Linked DNA regions of Homo sapiens: region 1 is linked to region 2. The links are contacts of gene promoters, found by promoter capture Hi-C in blood cells and fetal thymus (Javierre and others, 2016). All regions are on one chromosome and are shown on one strand. The core of a region is centred on a gene start or on the middle of the fragment in contact, and the rest is flanking DNA. Distances in the headings are between cores, read along the strand shown. Region 1 has its middle 89 kb from the start of WLS. Region 2 holds the start of GNG12-AS1 (GNG12, DIRAS3 and WLS antisense RNA 1).

Region 1 (5,955 bases), core at 2,354-4,853, 490 kb before region 2:
CTCAGACCTCTTGGACAACTTGCCCTGGGGCACCATGTTGGAAGTCCAACTACCCCGAGGCCACTATGCTAGGAAAAAACTCAAGCTAGCCCTGTGAAGTCACCATGCAGACAGAGATGCCTGGCCAGCCCCTCACTATTCAAATCATCCCAGCTGTAGTCCTAGACCCCATGGAGCAGAGTAGCACTGCCCGTCAAATTCCTGCTCCCCCAGAAACATGAGATAATGGCAATAAATTGTTGTTTTAGGTCACGAAGTATTGCAGTAGTTTGTTAAGTGGCAATAGATGATGAAATACTCCACTGTGTCTCTGTGTTCTTGTTTGAAAGTGGGGATACAACAATTTTCTACCTCTTTGCATCACTGTAAGAGTTAAATGGGTTAGAACTTGTAAAGCACTTAATGCCTGGCCCAAAGTAAGTGCTTGTACATATTAGATGTTATTATTTTAAAGATGTTATTTTTTATTTCTATAGATCAAAACAATTTTGTTTTGGTGAAATTAGTGATGGCTCAGAGCTAAGGTACATGATGATCTTGATTAATAGGTCACATTGTGAATTGGATGCCTTTGGTTGACTTTTTAGTTAGCAGGACTTGATTCAGACCCTGTGTAAGTAAGGTGATCTCTTGCTGAAAATCCACGTGTCAAGGGCGAAGGAGCAACCCCTGCCCCAAATATCAACTTAATCATCTTCCTAAGGCATCTGAGCTTTGCCCTGGGCAGAGGAGAGAGGCTTCCTAGTACGCTTCCAAATGCCTCCATTTATACTGCTGTTTTTTTGCCTTTTCCATACTGGCATAATTTGACACTAACGGGAAAAAGCTCTTGAGGATGAAAACTGTTGGTCGTTTCTCCCTGTGAGCTTGGAATCCAGCTTCAGAGGAGGAGAAACACAAACATGACACTAATGGACTTCCCTTGTTCTCAGTTCTTCTCATTTCAAGACAGCAGTGCCCTTGGCCTCCGGCTCCTGGCTTCAGATCCATTAGTGCCGGGCAAATGAGCCATGTGGTTTCTCTCATCTCCTGCCCATAAACCACCACACATACCTCTCTCCTGACCCTTCCCTCTAGTTAACATTGTTTAACACACTCAAGGACACAGTTGCGGTTCTTTTATTCCTAGAAAAGCAAGACGTGCTAATGCTTCCTGTGCTGGCCACCTCGGTGGCGACTCAAAGCCACAGCCTGGGCCGTTTGATGCTTTCTATTTCGGAATGGTATTGATAGCCTGTTACTGAGTGCCTCGGTGATGAAAAGCGCCCCTGGGAACCCGCTGACACGCCTGCGTTCCTCCACTGACTCAACCTGGCACAGCAGTCACTTCACTCTCCCTGGACTTCCAGATGTTGCAAGGCCTTCTCCAGGGCAACATCAGGGCTCTGTGCCCCTGGGAGGAGGAACTGAGGGGCAGAAAAGGGATGGAGAACTCAGACACACACACAAGTATCCTAACTCACGAGGGCATTTGTGTGCTGGGCTGGATATTTAACCAGCACCTGAAGTAATGAAAAGTGTTTTGGTTTCAAAACACCAGACCTGGGTTTTAGGCCTCATTCTGCCTTATACTAGCTGTTTGAGTTTTGGTAAGCTATCTAGATCTCAGCCTGCTTATTTGTGTAATTAGCACAGAGGGCTATCCTGACAGTTGGACTAGATGGAGTTTTGCCTTTATGCAGCGGAGATCTGGAAGGGCATACAGATATCAACCATTACCAGGAAGAGCCCAGTTTTCTTGTAGCTGGGTCACAGACACATTTGGAATCCAGAGGATGCTAAAAACAGTTCAGCTGCTGTTCTCAACAGGCTGCCTTTGAGTCCACACAGAATTTACCTTCTCTGTTTCCTCCATACTTTCTTTTTCTTTTCTGTCTTCTCCCCTGGGTCCTAGTTAAGGATAGAGTCTGACCGTCCCTTTCCTCTGAGCCTGGGACAAGTTCGACTCCAGGAGCCTTCTTAGTGGAGCTCCTGAAATGAAACAAGACTCTCTTGTTGATCCTAACTGCTTCTCTTAGCAAAGCTTTGAGGTGAGATCTGAGAATGGGAAACGAGTGAGAATGGGACCACATTAAAGGGACAGAGAAGTGTACCTTGGCAAAGATTAGCACATAGTAAGTATTCAGTAATGCCCTTGCCTTTCTTTAATTTTTTTTTCACCTAGTTTTCACTTTTATTCTGTCCAGGGTAGTTCCTTGTGCTCTCAGTTCAATTTGGATGTTTTCTTATCTGGACATATCTTAACATCTGCAGATGATTTTCCAAACTTGAGGGCTTGTAAACAATTCTGAGTCAGTTGTGGTGGATCATGCCTGTAATCTCTACGAAAATATGTTGGCTTTTTTTTGTTGTTGTTGTTTGTTTTTTGTTTTGAGACAGAGTTTCGCTCTTATTGCCCAGGCTGGAGTGCAATGGCGCGATCTTGGCTCACTGCAACCTCCACCTCCCAGGTTCAAGTGGTTCTCCTGCCTCAGCCTCCAGCCTCAGCATGTGCCACCATGCCTGGCTGATTTTGTATTTTTAGCAGAGATGAGGTTTCTCCATGTTGGTCAGGCTGGTCTCAAACTCCCGACCTCAGGTGATCCGCCCACCTCGGCCTCCCAAAGTGCTGGGATTGCAGGCATGAGCCACCATGCCCAGCAAAAATATTTCTTAAAAATTAGCTGGGTGTGGTAGTGCGTGCCTGTGGTCCCAGCTACTCAGGAGGCTGAGGTGAGAGGATCCTCTGAGCCAGGGGAGGTAGAGGCTTCAGTCAGCCATGATTGCACCACTGCATTCCAGCCCAGGTGACAAAGACCCTGTCTAAAAAAAAAAAAAAAAAAATTTCTGAGTTTTTCATAATTCTTTTGTTTCTTAAAGCAAATTGGTCCAATGACTAGATTCCTCCATCACAGTTAATTAATTTTTTTCTGGTCCTTATTTCTAATATCTGGGGTGGATTTCCACTGATATAAAGAAAGCTGAAGACAGATCCCAAAATTCACTATGCCCCTGAAATTCTATTTTGTATCTAGAAAAATCTAAAATCCTTCAGTGCTCTAGAGTTTCAGTTTAAGAAAGCTCTCAGCCAGTGACTATACAGGGACAAATATAGAACAATGACAGCAATTACCAGGACACTGCCCCACTGACAACATAAAAAAGTAATGTCATAAACCTATGGACACAAACCAGTTTTATGTCAAGGAGCCCCGACTCCAGGGTTCTTCTGTAAAGCAGGAGAGGGCCATTAAGCCCTGGGCTTAGCCAGACATCCTCATCCATGGGCCAGGGTGAGCCGCCAGAGGGCAGAGCCGTGGCAGCAGCAAGACAGCTAGCCAGCACACTCCGCAGCTCCTGCAAATATTTAACTAAATCTTCATTCTAACTCTCCAACCGACTAAATGTGTGACCTTGGGCAAGTTGCTTAAGCTCCCATGTCTCAGTTTTCCTCACGTGTAAAATTAATAAAATCTAGGCCAGGAAGTGTTATGGAAGTTAAATGAATTTATACATATAAAACTCTCAGAATGATGCCAAGCAAATAACAAATAACATATAAGTGTTTTCTGGTATTACTGTTGTTCTCATCAACTATTTTGATTACATTTTTAAAAAATAGTCTTTCTTCTAAGCTAACACAATTTAAAATTGGAGGTTCGCACAAGTCAGTCTCTTCCTTGTCTTTCCTAACTTATTCATAGATTTTATTATTATTATTATTATTTTAGAGATAGGGTCTCATTATATTGCCCAGGCTAGCTTTGAACTCCTGGGCTCAAGTGATCCTCCAGCTCAGCCTCCTGAGTAGCTAGGACTACAGGTATGCCCCAACAAACCCGGCTTTTGATTCATAGATTTTTTTTTTTAAAGTCGATTCCAATTTCCCATTCCCCATGTGTTGTATAGGGTGTCAGCTGGGAGCGTGCAAGTCTGAGGGCTTCAGGCTTTGCCACTGTGTGACCTGGGGCAAGGCACCTGGCCATCTGCTCCTCCCTTTTCTCCCATATGAAGTGGAAGGCTCATGCTAGGTTACCTGTGGAATCAATTCAGCCCTCAGGCCAGGAGAACAGCAGGGCTCCTTCAGTGCTGCATCCCTGTATTTCTCTTTCACTCCAGATTCCAAGCAAGGCTGAAGGCAGCCTATTTTCAAACTGCTCAACTCTCTCAAGAGAGGAAGAAAACCTGCCTTCAAACATAGCTCGCTGACTTTCCCCAAGATAAGCAACCCCCTTCCCAAGACTCTCTGATTATCAAACATGTCAGCAGTATTCTAAGAATCCTGTATAAAATAAGCAAACCAGTCCTCCGGGAAGACCTGAGGGACTGCTTTGAACAAGGGAAATGAACCTTAATGCATAAATGGATACATCCTCATTAAGCTGCAGATGCCAGGAATCACTGGGATGCTGACCCCTGTGCGGGAGGTACTGCACCTCTGCAGGTGGCAGGGTCACCAAGGAGCATAATTCTCTACCCCCTGCAGAATACTTGCCTGGAATATCTTTATATTCTCCGGGTGATGCCTGTAGAATTTTTTCTTTCTTTCCTTTAATCTCTCCTTCCAAAGTAGTCTCGAGCCCCTGCTATGCGCCAGAGACTGTGCTTACTGACAGTTACATAAGGAAGATTAAGACATGCTTCTTGCTTTCAAAAAATTCACACATCAGTAGGAAAAACTAAAATGTAAAGAATTCTATAACACAATGCCAGGCTAAATCTGGTTCCCCTGTTAACACTCTAATAGCACTTAGTACTTTCCTTTTCTATCACTTATCACAAGTTGGTAAATGCACTTGTATATTCCATTAATTAATATCTTACTTCTGCCAACCCCCCTCTCACATTGTAGACTGTGACTCCTTGAGCTAATATATACTTAGTAATTATTATATACCAGACACTGTCTTAAGTGCCTTATATATATTATCTTTCAATCTTCACAACTACTTTAAGAAGAATATACTAATATTCTTATTTTACAAATGAGGAAACCAAGACAGTAACGTGCCTGAGGTCACACAGCTGGTAAGAGTCAGAACCAGGTCTTAAACAAAAGCGGTCTGGCTTCAAATCTCTGTTCTCAGCTCTCTATTAAAGGGAAGATATCAAGACTCTTTTAAAGGTGATGGATAAGTAGGTGATACAGCCTAGAAAGATTTCCTTCTAAAATTGTTAAATTTCAATAATGTAGGTAAGCTTCCTTTGTCTGGAAAATCCATTCATATGGAACTCCTTAATTCCTACTATCAAACCCAATTTAGGCTTTGTGTATACAAAATATAAAGAAGAACAGGAGATAAATGGTGGCACTTAGATCAGAAAAAAAGAATATTTATTGCAAAACAAGTCTATGTGTATTGAAAAATACTGTTATCCTAAAAGCAAAAGGCTATATATTGTCATTTCTCTGACTTGATCTAAATTTAAGATTATGAAAGCCAAAGAAAATTGATCAACTATTTCCTAAAGAAAGAGACCCACCTCCACTGCTGTAATAATCCAATTCATTAACCCATGGACAGCAGGCACTTCTCTGGTAGACGCTTGTTATCATCTCATCAACTAAAAATGCAAATGTCTGTTAAAAATAAATGAGATTGGCAGCTGGGCATGGTGGCTCACACCTGTAATCCCAGCATTTTGGGAGGCCGAGGCGGGTGGATCACCTGAGGTCGGGAGTTCGAGACCAGCTTGACCAACATGGTGAAACCCCGTCTCTACTAAAAATACAAAATTAGCTGGGTGTGTGTGGTGGTGCATGCCTGTAATCCCAGCTACTAGGCAGGCTGAGGCAGGAGAATCACTTGAACCCAGGAGGCAGCGGTGGCAGTGAGCCGAGATCACGTCATTGCACTCCAGCCTGGGCAACAAGAGTGAAACTCTGTCTCAAAAAAAAAAAAAGAGATTGGCTGGGCATGGTGGCTCACACCTGTAATCCCAGCACTTTGGGAGGCCGAGGCAGGTGGATCACTT
Region 2 (5,905 bases), core at 231-2,730:
GAGGCGTTCGCACGCGAAGGAAACTTGCGAGGAGTCAGGGCGGCCCCGCGCGGGGGCGGGTCGTAGAGTGGGGGCCCTCAAGTCCTAGAACTTCAGGTCCTCCATGAGAATTAGAGGAAGGGGGATGGCCAAAGACGACCAGACGTCCACCGAGCTTCCACAGGCCAGGCCTCGCCCCTCCTCCTGCGGGGCCACAACGCGGGCTCCCCGGCCCGGGACAGCACAGCCAGGGCGTCCGGGCGGGAGGCAGGGCCCGGCGCGGAGGAAGGAGCCCGGGGCCGCCGCCGCCCCGCCCACCCCAGCGAGGCGGAGCCGGCGCCCGGAGGAGCAAGAGGAGGAGGAGGAGGAGAGGTCGGAGCCGTCTCCAGGAGCCCTTAGAGACCGAGTCCCGGCGGCGACGGCGGGGCAGCGCACCGGCAGGCGGGTGAGTACCAAGCGGCGGGCGCGGGTGGTGAGTCGGGTCCCCGCGGGGTCGGGGCGCGGCGCGGGGCGTCGGCCAGCGAGTTCGGGGGCCGCCTCCGAGTCCCGGGTGCTGGGAAGCGAGATGGAGGGAGGGAGCGGAGGAAGGAAGGAAGGAGGGAAGAGTGTCCTGCTGGAGGGCGGGGACTGGTCTGGGCGCTGGGCGCCGGAGACCGGGGGGAGGGGGAGGAAGGGGCCAAGGGACACCGAGACCCAGAGGCAGAAACGGCGCGCGCGCCCTCGACGGGCGGCCGCCCGAGGTTGCGGGAAGCCGCCCCCACGGCTGTGGCTGGGGCTAGGGCTGGGGGTGGAAGGAAAGGTCTCCCCTTGAGCTCGCTTGCCTCCTCGCCAGCCTGCGGCCGTGCGCCCCGCGCCGGGTTGGGAGGCCCCCAGTGTTCCCAGCCGTGGCTTGTGGTGGTGTCAGGCGTTGGAGGAGGGCTGGCATGTGGGGGCGACAGGGACGCCACGCCCCTCTGCCTACTTTCTACCTCCCGGGACCAGCCGGCGGGAGCGCAGCCTTGGAATCCGCTGGGCGCTGGGGGTCTAGCAGGGAAATAGCGGGTCGCAGAGGGGAGAGCCCATATGACGCACCCCGCGAGGGACCCCCGAGTGGGGACCCGAGGCTGCTTTTCTGCAGACTGTATTTGCAAGTGGTAAGGGGGAGGTTGAGGCTTAGTCTTGGGTGATTTTTTTTTTTTTAATTATTGCCCCGACAGTTATCCCGTGGGGCAGGGTGAATTCTGTTTTTCATTTTAATTAGGGCATATCAATTAAAGCTAACTTTAAAACGCTGTCACTTAGCACCTCCCGTCACTCACTCGTCCCTCGCTTTGTGTGTCCTGTAAACTTGGCTTAAATCATTCATAACTCACGATAAGGAAGCCGTGATTCTTGTTCACGTCGCCGCAGTGGAGTGAAACTTTGCCCAACTGGGACTGAGTGGAGGCATTGCTGCGGCCGGTCATCTGGTGGTCATCCTGCCGGGCGTGGTTGTATACAAACAAGTGGGTCGAGAAGGAAATCTCTGAACACCAGAGGTAGAAGGGAGGTTCCTGCGCCCACGTGTCAGGGCGCGTTTAATGGCTGCTCCCAGCGGAAACAAACGGGAATTTATTAGACCGTGTGGAGTTGGACAAACTTCACATGATTAGCTTCCTTCCCATCAGTTACTTCCTCTCCCCCCTGCTGTCTTTGCCGACACAGTTTATATTTCCTGGGGCGGTTGTAGCTTCGCCTGAATAGGCTGTGTATAATGAATCTTTTGGATGTCGTCAGAGGCAGGGTCTGCGTCTGTGCCTTCTCTATTTTAAAAGCGGAGTTTGGCTTTGTTTTTAAAAGTGCTAGTCACCAGACTGCACCCTTGCCAGCGCTTCGCAGCTCTCGAAGTAAATTATCGCAGGATGGCGGCCCTCACCTAGGAGAACCAGGAAGGCAGGCAGCGCTAGAACGACGGGATTGAATTTTACTATTGCCAAAACAATCACATTCAAGTAAGGAGCTGTTTTGTTTTGTTTTTGTTTTTTTAACCAAATTATATATACTAGCAAGCCCCTTTTCTAGTAAACTAACGTTATTCACACACACAATTTTTAAAGTAATCAAAAATTTTACAGAGTCTTAAGTGATAAAAGGACTTTCAGATAAAATGTTCAGTCCCTTTGCCTTCTCTAATAGTTAACCAGCGCCGTAAAGCCCTGGTTTAAGTCCAAAAAATGCTGAAAAGTCTACTGCGTCGTTAGACCTTATAAATAATGCAGTCCTATTTTTGCTGTATTTAACTCATGTAATTTACTAGATATCGAACCCCCAACAGGGCACACAGCACTTAGATTTGTGTAGAAATATATGAAAATGTGAATCTGTGTTTCACAAGAGCCTGAAAAAAATAGAATTATAAAAATTTCCTGTCCAGAAAGCTCCAGTCTTACTTGAAAGCTCTCTAACAATTAGATTTGTGGATTTGTGTTGTCACTTGTTAGAGAATATCGGTGGTTTATTAAAGTGTGAGAGCAAAGGGCTTCATGGTCAGAAAACTTGAGGAAGTGGTTAGCCAATATCAAATTAGTTTTTTTTAAAATTAGAATTATGTGATTTATTGTGTTTTGCTTTGTTTTGGAGTTTTATGTCAGCTTAAGCTTAACCTAGGAAGGCAAGTTGTGAAAGCAAGTAAATTTTTCTGAGCCCTAACTTGGAAGAGAAGCTTGTTTAACAGTGATTTGGGGTGTTGGCTTTGGAGTCAGACAGACTTAGATGAAAATATTAGCTATTTAACCTTTTTCAGTCTGATTTATAAGATGGGGATAATAATGGTCTCTATCTGTAGGGCTTTACAGAAAGTATATGAAAACTTTGTCTTTGGAAAACACTTAAACTGGACTTAACACGCAGTACATGGTCAAAATTATTAGATATTTATCTAGCTTGTTCAAGCAGCAGGCTACTGGATAAATTGCAGGGTGGCAGCTTGAACCTTCCGGAAATGCTAGATAGAGCAATTTCAAATTCTACAGAAAGTAACTGGTGTGTGTGTGTTTGTGTGTGTGTATGTGTGATGTTTCTACCACAGCAATATGAATAATTATGATTAAAGGATTAATAGTTTTAATATGCTTTTAGTGCTAAAGTTACAGTTGCATAGTAATTTTGACAGTCAGAAACATTGCATTATCCTTTACATTTAAAGAGAATTTATATTTCAAATAGTTGTGTTTATTAGCCCTAGGTAAGAAATTAAGCCAGGAACAGAAGTATTCATCTTTAACCAAGTGTAATTCTTAATCAAAGTATGAAAACATGTGACCCAAGGGTATCCGGTTATTTACTTTTGCATGTGCTGATGTCCAAGGCCAACAGATAAGCCATAAGAAGTGTTAGGCTGATTGTGAGTCGTTGTTTTATTTGTAAACTTTCATGAGATTGGGTGTTCAGTTAATTCAGGAAATCTACTCATCACATTGTTGACTCATTTCCTAAAATCTAAAAAATTTTTTAAATGCCTTCATCTTGCCAGGCGCTGTGGCTCACACCTATAATCCCAGCACTTTGGGAGGCCAAGGTGGGCGGATCACCTGAGGTCGGGAGTTCAAGACCAGCCTGACCCACATGGAGAAACCCCATCTCTACTAAAAATACAAAATAAACCAGGCGTGATGGCGCATGCCTGAAGTCCCAGCTACTCGGGATGCTGAGGCAGGAGAATCACTTGAACCCAGGAGGCGGAGGTTGCGGTGAATCGAGATCGTGCCATTGCACTCCAGCCTGGGCAACAAGAGCAAAAACTCTGTCTCAAAAAAAAAAAAAAAAAAAGCCTCCATCTTTAAAACAAACCCTTTAAAGCTTCTTGTTTTTGTCCTAATGCACGTCAGGTGCACAGAATTGGGCTGAACCAGGATCTTAGCTCATGCCACAGATGATTTCTCATTTTACTAATTGCTCCACTGGGACACAGAGATGTGGTTTATAATAATTTTAAATAACTATAAAGGGTACAGTGTGATTATTAATTGTTTCTTGCCTATGACATTATGCTCTGAAACAACTGAAGCATTTGATTGAGTAAATTATTGATTCGTTTCACTCCTAGAACATAACATAATGATTTCTGGCTCATACTTCTAGGTGAGTAGACTGTGAGCAAGTTACTTAATCTATGCTTCAATAAGTGTTGTGAGGAATAAATGAGCTAATCTATGTATATAGCATTTGGAATAGTGCCTGGTGCATAGTCCACATTCAATAAATGTTAACATTAAATTATTGAAATTTTCTCTAAATGTTGTATAATGAGCATGCATTATTTTTGTAACAGGAAAACAGCTATACAAAATTTTAATATTTCCCCCAAATCTAAAAAAAGCTCAGTAATTTAAATAGTCCTGCCAAATAGTACTTAAAAAGTAAGAGAATTAGACAATCATCATTTTGTCTTTTAAATGTGAAATGGTTTGCAATATTAATTTGTTAAACAAGTTAATTCTTCCAAATCTCAATTCCATTTTCTTTTTTATTAGAGACTTTAAAAAATCAGTAATACATGAAGTCTGTTACAGTTTAAAATGGGGAAAAGCAGTATGCACAGTTACATTGTGTTATTACAATTACAGCTAGCTTAAAAATTATTTTTAAACCATAAGAAAAGCCTAGAAGAAAATACAGACAAATTGGTGATGGGATTATGGTGCTCTCCCACCCCCAACCTGCTTTTCCCCTATTTTCCACAATGCGCCTATATATATACTAAAATATAATTCATTTGTGTAATAGTTACTAAACAAATCTGGTTTATTAACTACAAATACTAAAAAAAATTTGCGTAATAGTTACTAAAAAACAAATCTGGCTTGTTAACTACAAATAGCAGGATTTTATTGTTGTTTTGGAAAAAGCACCAACTTTATGGCAGTTGAATGTCCTTCGGTTAAATGTCAAAACCTTTGCAGTGAGAATTGTTTAGCGGTAAAAGAGAAGGCCTTTCAGAAGCTTGTAGTTTGATCTTCATGAAGAATATTTGAAAAGTCTACCAGTGGGTTTTTAGGATCTGCATATAGACCTAGTCCACCAACCTTGACTTTATGGAAGTTGTGACTTCCCAGATCCAGGCCTGCCTTGATGAGCTGCGTTTTTACAGCACCTTCAGTATATCAGACACCTGGAAGACAGTAATGAGGCAGATATTGGTGCACTTAGTTTAACAGGAAGGTTGGATAGATAAAAACTAATTACAGCACAATTGTATATATTATATATCCTGAGCCCTTTCTAAACTCTTCCCGTATACAGTCTTGCTCAGTTGTCACAACAGCCCAGAGGAGGAAGCTGAGGTTCCTTAAAGGTCTGAACCTTGCTCAAGTTGCAAGGACAGAATTTGACCCAGAAGCATCTTAACTCCACATCTCATGCCCTCTGCACGGAGATGGAGGTGCATCCAGCCAGAGGTGAGAGTGAAGTGGGCTTTATGGAGTCAGTTTTGCTTAAAAACTATAAAACTAATCAAGAGAAACATGAGGAGGAGACTCCTTTTAGGTGACCTTCCTGAGGAGAATCATCAGTGCCTCTCCATCAGGCTTGCCACTCTTTAGCCATAGCAGTTAACACTTCCAAATGGCTGCTGAGACCCAGCAGGCCTGAAGCGCACACAAAGGCCCAGTCCTTGGTGACCCTGTGAAGCCTACCTCTTTCATCCCTGGACTTCCAAAGGGGGTCTGGATAGTACAGATGAAGGAACTGACTCGCTAAATCCTGTTCTAGAACCAGCACATACCCACAGATCCTGACCTCCCCACTTTCCTCCCTTAGGAATGACAGGAGAGTAGTTAACAGGTAGCATGGATCCAGGGCAGATGGTGGAGGTGACTTGACTTAAGATAACTTGTAGCTAGATTATTCCATTTATTGGAGAGTCTCTCTTGAAAATCATATCTGATGTCACTTAAGTGTTTGGTTTATC

The links. The method cuts DNA at HindIII sites, captures the fragments that hold promoters and counts their contacts. A CHiCAGO score of 5 or more calls a contact.
Region 1: a contact is called between a fragment that was not itself captured here and the fragment with the promoter of GNG12-AS1 in region 2, in 2 of 17 cell types (endothelial precursors and megakaryocytes). The highest score is 7.6, in endothelial precursors.

What each region holds. Positions count from the first base shown.
Region 1 is chr1:68,318,610-68,324,564 of GRCh38, reverse strand. No RefSeq gene overlaps it. Among named protein-coding and RNA genes, the nearest start is that of WLS, 89 kb to the right of the region's middle. The HindIII fragment of the contact is 3,155 bases long and covers 2,026-5,180 here.
Region 2 is chr1:67,827,863-67,833,767 of GRCh38, reverse strand. GNG12-AS1 (GNG12, DIRAS3 and WLS antisense RNA 1) reads right to left here and starts at 1,480. Exons shown (of 10, transcript NR_040077.1): 1 at 1,332-1,480. GNG12 (G protein subunit gamma 12) reads left to right here and starts at 301. Exons shown (of 4, transcript NM_018841.6): 1 at 301-424. The HindIII fragment of the contact is 10,966 bases long and covers 1-2,596 here.